Regions from separate parts of the Homo sapiens genome. Here region 1 is linked to region 2. Evidence: promoter capture Hi-C in 16 types of primary human blood cells and fetal thymus (Javierre and others, 2016). All regions are on one chromosome and are shown on one strand. The core of a region is centred on a gene start or on the middle of the fragment in contact, and the rest is flanking DNA. Distances in the headings are between cores, read along the strand shown. Region 1 has its middle 58 kb from the start of QTRT2. Region 2 holds the start of USF3 (upstream transcription factor family member 3).

Region 1 (4,009 bases), core at 147-2,646, 420 kb before region 2:
AGTGATTTTCCATGCGTGGGAAGAAAGGAGTTGGAGAATGTTTAATCCTTGATTTCAAAACTAACTATAAAGCTGCAGTTATCAACAGTATGGTATTTGCAGTAAGAAGACATATAGACCAATGGAACAGAATTGACAGTCCAGAAATAAATCGTTATATTTATGGTCAATTGATTTTCAGCAAAGACAATTCTGGGAAAAGAAGAGCCTTCCAAAATTCATATGTTGAATCTATAACCCCCAATGTGACTGTATTTGGAGTTAAGGCCTATAAGGAAGTAATTAAGGTTAAACTTCCATTAACATAAGCAGTTACTTTAGTCCAATGCAATGTTTGGCAGGATCCTGTTTCAGTGGATCAAATGCTACATAGGCACTGTCTAGCTGAAGTTGTATGAATAGGATAAGTGTCCATTCGTATCAAAATCACAGGGTGGAATCACATGGTGGAAAGGACCCATTTTGTCATTAAGAAGAATAATTTGCCATTAAGAAGCTGGTTGGTCTTCTTGAGGGATGGAGCCATACTGGAGACTCAGTGATGGTATCTGTTGCTGTCAGGCTGGATCTTCAGCAGTGGCAGTAACTAGATCAGCCTTAGCAAGTGAGAGCACGTGTTGTTGGGCCTATAAATAGCTTCCATCACCACCACTGTTTCTCAGTCATGGTTGTTGTACTTATCCATTTATCATCAAAATTAGGCAAGGGAGTATTCTTTTCTGTCGCCATCATGTAAGAGAAGAGCTATCTTCTCCTGATTAAGAAAGTCAATTAGGCCAGTCACTGCGGCTCACACCTGTAATCCCAGCACTTTTGGAGGCCGAGGCCAGCAGATCACCTGAGGTCAGGAGTTAGAGACCAGCCTGGCCAACATGGTGAAACCCCATGTCTACTAAAAATACAAAAATTAGCAGGGCTTGGTGGCAGGTGCCTGTAATCCCAGCTACTTGGGAGGCTGACAGAGGAGAATCACTTGAACCTGGGAGGCAGAGGTTGCAGTGAGCCGAGATGGTGCCATTGCACTCCAGCCTGGGTGACAAGAGTGAAACTCCGTCTCAAAAAAAATAAAAATAAAGTCAATTAGTCTTGTTAGGATGGTGTCTCCATTCCTTACCCATGGTCCATTAATGTGCCTATTGTGCCAGCACTGATAGGAGCTGGCTGACATCAACTGGCTAAGACATTCTACTTCCCAGGTTGTATAGAGTCAACTGTCCAAATAATTCACTACTGCCTATAAGTGATACATATCTTATCTCAGAGTATTTCTCTCGACAAAGGCACCATCTGATGCTTTATCCATTAGGAAGAATTTCTCTCATCCCTAATTTTCTGGGACACGCTAAGGATGTGGTCCTGTTATATAGCAATAGTCTATTTTTAGCTTGCTACTACATTCCAATCTTACCCGTACATAAATCAAACTCAGCTTTTGCCCTCACTTTATGCTGCCGTAAGTGTGAGCTAAGGGTGAGGCATCAGTGCAAATGTGATGGATGACCTAGTAGTCTGGGCCACATATGCGTGCAACTTATTTGTGCTCTCTGGCTCTGCTAATGCCTGATCCCAAACGTATCATTTCCTTCCTTACAATTGTTGGTAGGCCTGCCTGCCTTCATGATTTGGGGGTCTGTCAGAATTCGCAATGGGCAGTCCTTGCTGTGTGGACCCTTGGCATCCCATAGTTGGGTGCTGTGTTCCTACTAGGAACCAGTAGGGCACCAGGAATATTTATCTAAACGTATAGTTCTCTGCTGCAAATTGCTTGTCTTGCTTCTGAATCCTAGGGGTCTATTTGTGTTTGCCTATTGAGGCCTGCCATAAAATGTACACAGCCTTTTTCTATCAATGATACCTCCTATACTGTAGGCTCTACCACATCATGTGACCAAAATCATCATATGACAGAGCAGCTTGCACTACTGCCTGGTCCTGCTGCAGAGCCCTTTCCTGCTCTGGGCTCTCTCCAAATCTGGTAGACTCATGTTTCAGCTGGCGTATGTGCTAGAGTAGTGTCTCTGAGTGTGAAATGTGCTGCTTTCAGAACCAGAAGACGCTTATTGGTGCTGGGTTTCCTTCTTAGTTATGGGAAATGCAAGTTACAATAATTTGTCCTTTACTTTGAAGTGCATGTCTCAGCATTCCCCAGCCTACTGGACCTCTAAAAATTTTACTAATGTGGAAAGTCTCTGAATCTTTATAGTATTTTTTAAAATCTCCCACCCTTTGGAGTATATGTGTCTAGCCAAGGCTTCCAAAGCCCTTGCCAGTTGTTCACTTGGTCTGATTAATATGATGTTACAGATGTAGCAAACTAATGAAAAGTTGTGCAAAATGTCCATGTGGTCCAGCTTCCTTTGGACAGTATTATATCCACAGATGGGAGAATCTGTATAGTCATGAGGCAAGGCAGTAAATGTAAACTTTTGTTCTTCCCAAGTGAATGAATTTCTGATCTTCCTTACTGATAGGGATGGAAATGAACACATAAACACACCAGATTGATGGCCTCATAGTATATACTTGAGGCCATGTTAAAGACATCACATCTGGCACCACAGCTGCAATTAGGGGCTACCACTTAGTTGGCTGTGTGGCAGTCTACTGTCATCCTCCAGGGTCTGGAGGGGACAGACTGATGCATTAGTGGAGACCATCAGCCCTGAATTCTCTAGATCTTCAATGGTCACCCTAATTTCTGTCATGCCATCTACCGTCATTTTTAAAATTTATTATCTTGCCTTGAGGGGAAGTTTCAGAAGCTCCCACTTGGCCTTCCCCGTTACACTAGTTCTCCAGGGTCAAGCACACAACGATGTTCAGCCAACTGCTACATATGTCCATCCCAATTACAAATTGGAATTTACACATTTGGGAACTAAGAAAACGACCCACCATGAGTCACACTTAAGCCAATGTTACATGTACTACCTGGCTCCCATATGACCTCACTTCAACAGGAGGTCCATGATGACATGGGTCCCTAACAAACACAAACTCTGAGTTGGAGATTCACATGCAGAAAGTTTATCGGAACTTGAGGATCAACACTCACGTAGGATAAAGGAAGACTGGGCAGAAGAGGAGTGGGACTCTGAGTCAGTTGTAACAAGGACTTTGGCAGTCCCATAGGGGTCTCTGGATCTGGGATAGCCCTTCAAACTTGTCCTGGCTTTAGGCATACAAAACAGGCTTTTATATGCCCATATTACTGAGTTATAAGAAGTATCTGTCTCCAGGGAGGAGGCACAACCTAAGAGGGATGGTTCTCTTCAGCTGAGAACCAGTCCTGGACAGGGACTTAGCTGAGAGCCACTGGCCATAAGCCACCAACACTCCCCTCAGCTGGGGGAATAACTGCCTTAGTTTTGATGTAAGACTATAGGCAGTAGACTATAACATCTGCTACATGTGCTCAGCTAAAATTCTCAGATGTTTTCCACTAAAGTTATATTAAACCAAGTCTTGAACTTTTGTATTTTTGTTTGTTTGTTTGTTTTGAGACGTAGTCTCGCTCTGTCATGAAGACTGAAATGCAGTGGCGTGTTCTCAGCTCACTGCAACCTCCTCCACCCAGGTTCAAGTGATTCTCCTGCCTCAGCCTCCTGAGTAGCTGGGATTACAGGTGGGTGCCACCACGCCTGGCTAATTTTTGTATTCTTTAGTAGAGACAGGGTTTCACTATGTTAGCCAGGCTGGTCTCGAACTCCTGGCCTCAAGATGATCCCCCCGGCCTCAGCCTCCTAAAGTGCTGAGATTACAGGCATGAGCCACCGTGCCTGGTCTTGAACTTTGGATGTAGATTTTTGGAACCAATGCTGGATCTTGTATTCATCATCTATTCGACTTGTTGGTTTTATCCTAGCATTCCAGCCTGCTTAGTCACTGAATTTTAATTACAATAGCTACTGTCTTAGACTTCCCTTGAGATTTGAATTATCTCCAAATGGAAGAATATATTAAAGGGAATGTTGTCATGTTATTGAAAAAACACTGAGGCCTAAATCCT
Region 2 (3,991 bases), core at 643-3,142:
AGGTGGAGGCTGCAGTGAGCTGTTACAGTGCCACTGACCTTCAGCCTTGGCAACAGAGGGAGACCCTGTCGCAGGAAAAAAGAAAAGAAAGAAAACAAAGGAAAGGAAAGGAAAACAAAGGAAAGGAAAGGAAAGGGAAAGGGAAGAAAAGGAAAAGAAAAAGAAAAGAAAAGAGAAAAATCCCTGTTTGGGATTTAGGCTACACTTAGGTAATAAGGATTAATTTAAAAAGCTAATATTCTGATCTTTATCAAACGGAAATTGTTCTTCTTTTCTACGTCTATATCGTGCCAGAAATATATTAATGTGTATTTTTTAAAGGTGATCTAAAGGAATGGTTAAATTCTGTTTCATGAATCATCAAAACTATTTGTTTTTACTTTAGAATTGATGCATTGCAGTTGTTTAGGAAATCATGCACACCCTGGATATGATATTTGTTAACGAGAAATACCTTGTATTCTGAACACACTGGAAATTGTTTCCTATGGCTGAGCATACCAATACTATACAATTTTATGGTGATGTTATTAGCATTGCTATTATGGCTCTGACTCGTAGAATCTTTCTTATCTGCAGTTTTGATTTGGATGTGCCAAGTCTGTTCAAAGGCTAATTAGAACTTCGTGTGCCTAGATGGATGAGTTAAAGAAAATTTCTAGCCTGTTTATTAGTACCACAGTTTATAAGCAACATTACAGGCCTTCCGTTTCATCATAGCTTTTCAATCTGCTGTACAAACATAAGACTCCGTTACTGTTAGCCTTTACCCTTTTGCTCAATGCGATGTCTGCTGCTTCTGTATACAGGCTCAAGTAATTCCCATTATGCCATGCCCTGTGTGCACCTTCTGGAAGTTAGCCCACGGACATCTAAGATCTGGGATATTTCCAAATCTGGTTGTGGAAGGGCTTGGAAATCTATAACCGCAACTAGGTGGAGGACACCTGTTTCAGCAGGAGGTTATAAAATATGAAGCGAAACTAGGAAGAGGGAGTTGTGATCACGGTTCCAAGGGCTCCACACAGATCCTGGAGTTAAGGGGCACTCAGGTCTCCATTTCGTGACCCCTGGCCCTACCTCTCCTAGATCCAGGTATTTAGTAACCCAGGCTTGAGATCTCAAACCCCATCCCCCAATGCCAAACTCCCTTGTCCCAGCTGGGAGGCCCCCAGGGCATTTCTGAACATGGCCATCTCCAATTCACAGAAATCTGTGTGTTGTTGCAAATAAAGGATGACAAGAGACCACAGCCTACGAATGCGAGCAGCGTCAAGTCAGCAACAATCTTCCAGTTATCGAGAAGTCGGAAACGTCTGATTCTTTCTTCTCCACATTTACTAAGACGTATCTTCTCACCTTCCTGCCCTCCACGTTAAGAGGGGCTAACTATTCCGAAAGACTTCCGTGCCCTCTTCCTTTTCAATTTTTCCACTTCCAAACTCCTACCGAAAGACGAAGAAAAGAGACCACAGAAGAAGATACAAAGAAGTTTCTTAAAACACCTTCTTTTCTAGGTTCTCAAGGCGTCCCCTTTAAGGAACCAGGCCCACCTCTTTCCCATTCACCTACTGGCTTTCCTTCCTGTCCGTCACTCTACCTTTAAGAATATTTCCTGTTTCTTCAACCCAACTTGCACACCTCCGCCCCCCGGCCCTCCTCATTGGGCCGCCCGATCCCCGTTCACTCCTTGGTTTCCTCTCCGCCTCCTCCCGCCCTCTAGCGTAGTGCAACGGCATTCTGTCTTCTTATTGGCTACCACGGCAGCGTTCCCGCAGCCTGATTGGCGGGTTGAGTGAAAGAGGCGGGAACGCGGCGCGCCCAGGGTAGGCTGTTCGCTTGCTGAGCTGCGGCCGCGGGAGGGGCGGGGAGGGGCGGGGGGAGGGGGGCTGGGAAAGTTGAGGCCGCGCTGCCGCCGGGTCTCCGGCCTTGAGGGCTCGGGCTCGCAGCGGCTGCGGTGGCCGCAAAAAGAGGCGGCGGGGGCGGGGGGAGAGGAGGGCCTGGGCCCGCGCTCCCCCAGCCCCGGAGGAGCAGGCGGTGGCCGCGGACGGAGAGATTCGCCCAGACGGTCAGACACTCCTGCCTTCCCCTCCTGGGATCATGACCCAGGCGGGGGTCGCCGCCGTCGCCGCCGCCACCGCGGCCGAGACCGCGCAGCCGGCGGGTAAGTGACTGCGGGAGGGGGCCGCTGACAGCCGGGGCGGGGGGCGGGGGCCAGGGCTGCGGGGGCGGCTCCGGAGGGCGGCCCCGGGCTCAGCTCCACCCACCCCCTTCCTGCTCCGGGAGGCCAGGGCTGCGCTAAGTGCGCCTCCTTCCTGGGGACCCTTGCGTGCGGCACCTGGTGGGGCGTCAGCGCCCGCGGCGAGCGCACCCCTCATCTCCCGCCCGCCCTGCGTCCCCGGCTGCCAGGCCCGTGGGGGGCTCGCACTGCGCCCCAGCTCCTAGATGCGCGCGGGGCGAGAGGGGCCCCACGCTGCCCTGGGTGCATAAAGAGCTGGGCAGCCAGGTTCACACCAGATGGCCTTTGCCCGCCTCCTTCACCTTTTCCTGTCTTCTTCATTCCCCTTCTTTCCTTGCCCTCTGAATTTCTTTCGTACCCGTTCGTCAGACTCATGTGGCTTGCTTTTTCCCTCTCACCCCTCTGTCGAAGTGTTAGGCTTGTGTTTTCTTTTTAGAAGCCGTTCTTTTGCTTTCTGAGTAGAAGCAGTGCAAGTGAATGACCAACTCTTGAAATCTACTTTCATGTATCCGGATGAAATATAAGATTCCTGGACTCTTGTTCATGTTTACAATTTTGATAGTTGAATTCACCCCACTCGTTCTTGAAGCTTGTCCTCCCAACCCTCCTCGTTACATTGGGATATGGTCCTTTGCGTTTATTAACTTTATCTGGAAATATGAGACTGCATAAACCAAAGTGCAGAATTTCAACTTCCGTTCTTGTAACATTTTTACCATCAAGTAGATACAGTAACCTAACACCACACAGATCAAGACAGTCGTGGCCAACTGTGTAGGCAAAGAAGACATTTCCTTACCTATAAACAACGTACAGATTTCTTGAATAAATCTTACGGTGAGTTACATGGATCCTGAAACATATTCCCAGGTTTGCTCTTTTGTAAAGAAAACCAAACAGACAAACCTGCCTTTTGAAGGATCAACAGGCTGTCCTACTCTCCATTCACCTTGATGACTTTTTTCTCTCCCATAGAACTCTTGTTTAACATAGTACAGAGTTGCTGTTTGGGATACATGTGTTGTTTCTCTTTAAGTACTCAAAGTATTTGTTACAAAAGAAGTAAAATACATTGTAATTGCACTTCTGAAAGCAGAAGTAGTGTAATGTATCCATGCAAGAATGAATGCTTAATCCTAAAGCAGTTTTGCTTTAGCCTAAGCCAAGCTTTTCCAACCCCCGTCCAAGGACGGCTTTTAATGCGGCCCAAGACAAGAAGACAAGTTCGTAAACTTTCTTTTATTTTTTTTGAGACAGAGTCTCACTCTGTCGCCCAGGCTGGAATGCAGTGGTGTTATCTCAGTTCACTGCAACCTCCGCCTCCTGGGTTCAAGCAATTCTCCTGCATCAGCCTCCTGAGTAGCTGGGATTACAGGTGCATGCCACCAGCCCAGCTAATTTTTATTTCTTTAAGTAGAGACAGGGTTTCTCCATGTTGGCCAGGCTGGTCTTGCACTCCTGACCTCAGGTGATCCGCCTGCCTCTGTTTCCGAAAGTGCTGGGATTACAGGCATGAGCCGCTGCGCCCGGCCTCAAATTTGTAAACTTTTTAAAACATTATGAGATGTTTGTGTGTGATATTTATTTACTTATTTATTTAAGCTCATCAGCTATCGTTAGTGTTAGTGTATTTGATGGGTGGCCCAAGACATTTCTTCTTCCTGTGTGCCCCAGGGAGGTCAAAAGATTGGACACTCCTGGTCTAAGCTAAAAGACTTAGGTGTACATAGGTATTGGGATCTCCCTGTATTT

Evidence for each region. Contacts are between HindIII fragments. The CHiCAGO score rates a contact against its expected background, and 5 or more counts as called.
Region 1: a contact is called between a fragment that was not itself captured here and the fragment with the promoter of USF3 in region 2, in 1 of 17 cell types (neutrophils). The highest score is 6.7, in neutrophils.

What each region holds. Positions count from the first base shown.
Region 1 is chr3:114,112,785-114,116,793 of GRCh38, reverse strand. No RefSeq gene overlaps it. Among named protein-coding and RNA genes, the nearest start is that of QTRT2, 58 kb to the right of the region's middle. The HindIII fragment of the contact is 8,503 bases long and covers 1-4,009 here.
Region 2 is chr3:113,694,543-113,698,533 of GRCh38, reverse strand. USF3 (upstream transcription factor family member 3) reads left to right here and starts at 1,892. Exons shown (of 7, transcript NM_001009899.4): 1 at 1,892-2,164. RefSeq lists silencers at 1,682-2,151, 2,172-2,561. The HindIII fragment of the contact is 8,785 bases long and covers 1-2,830 here.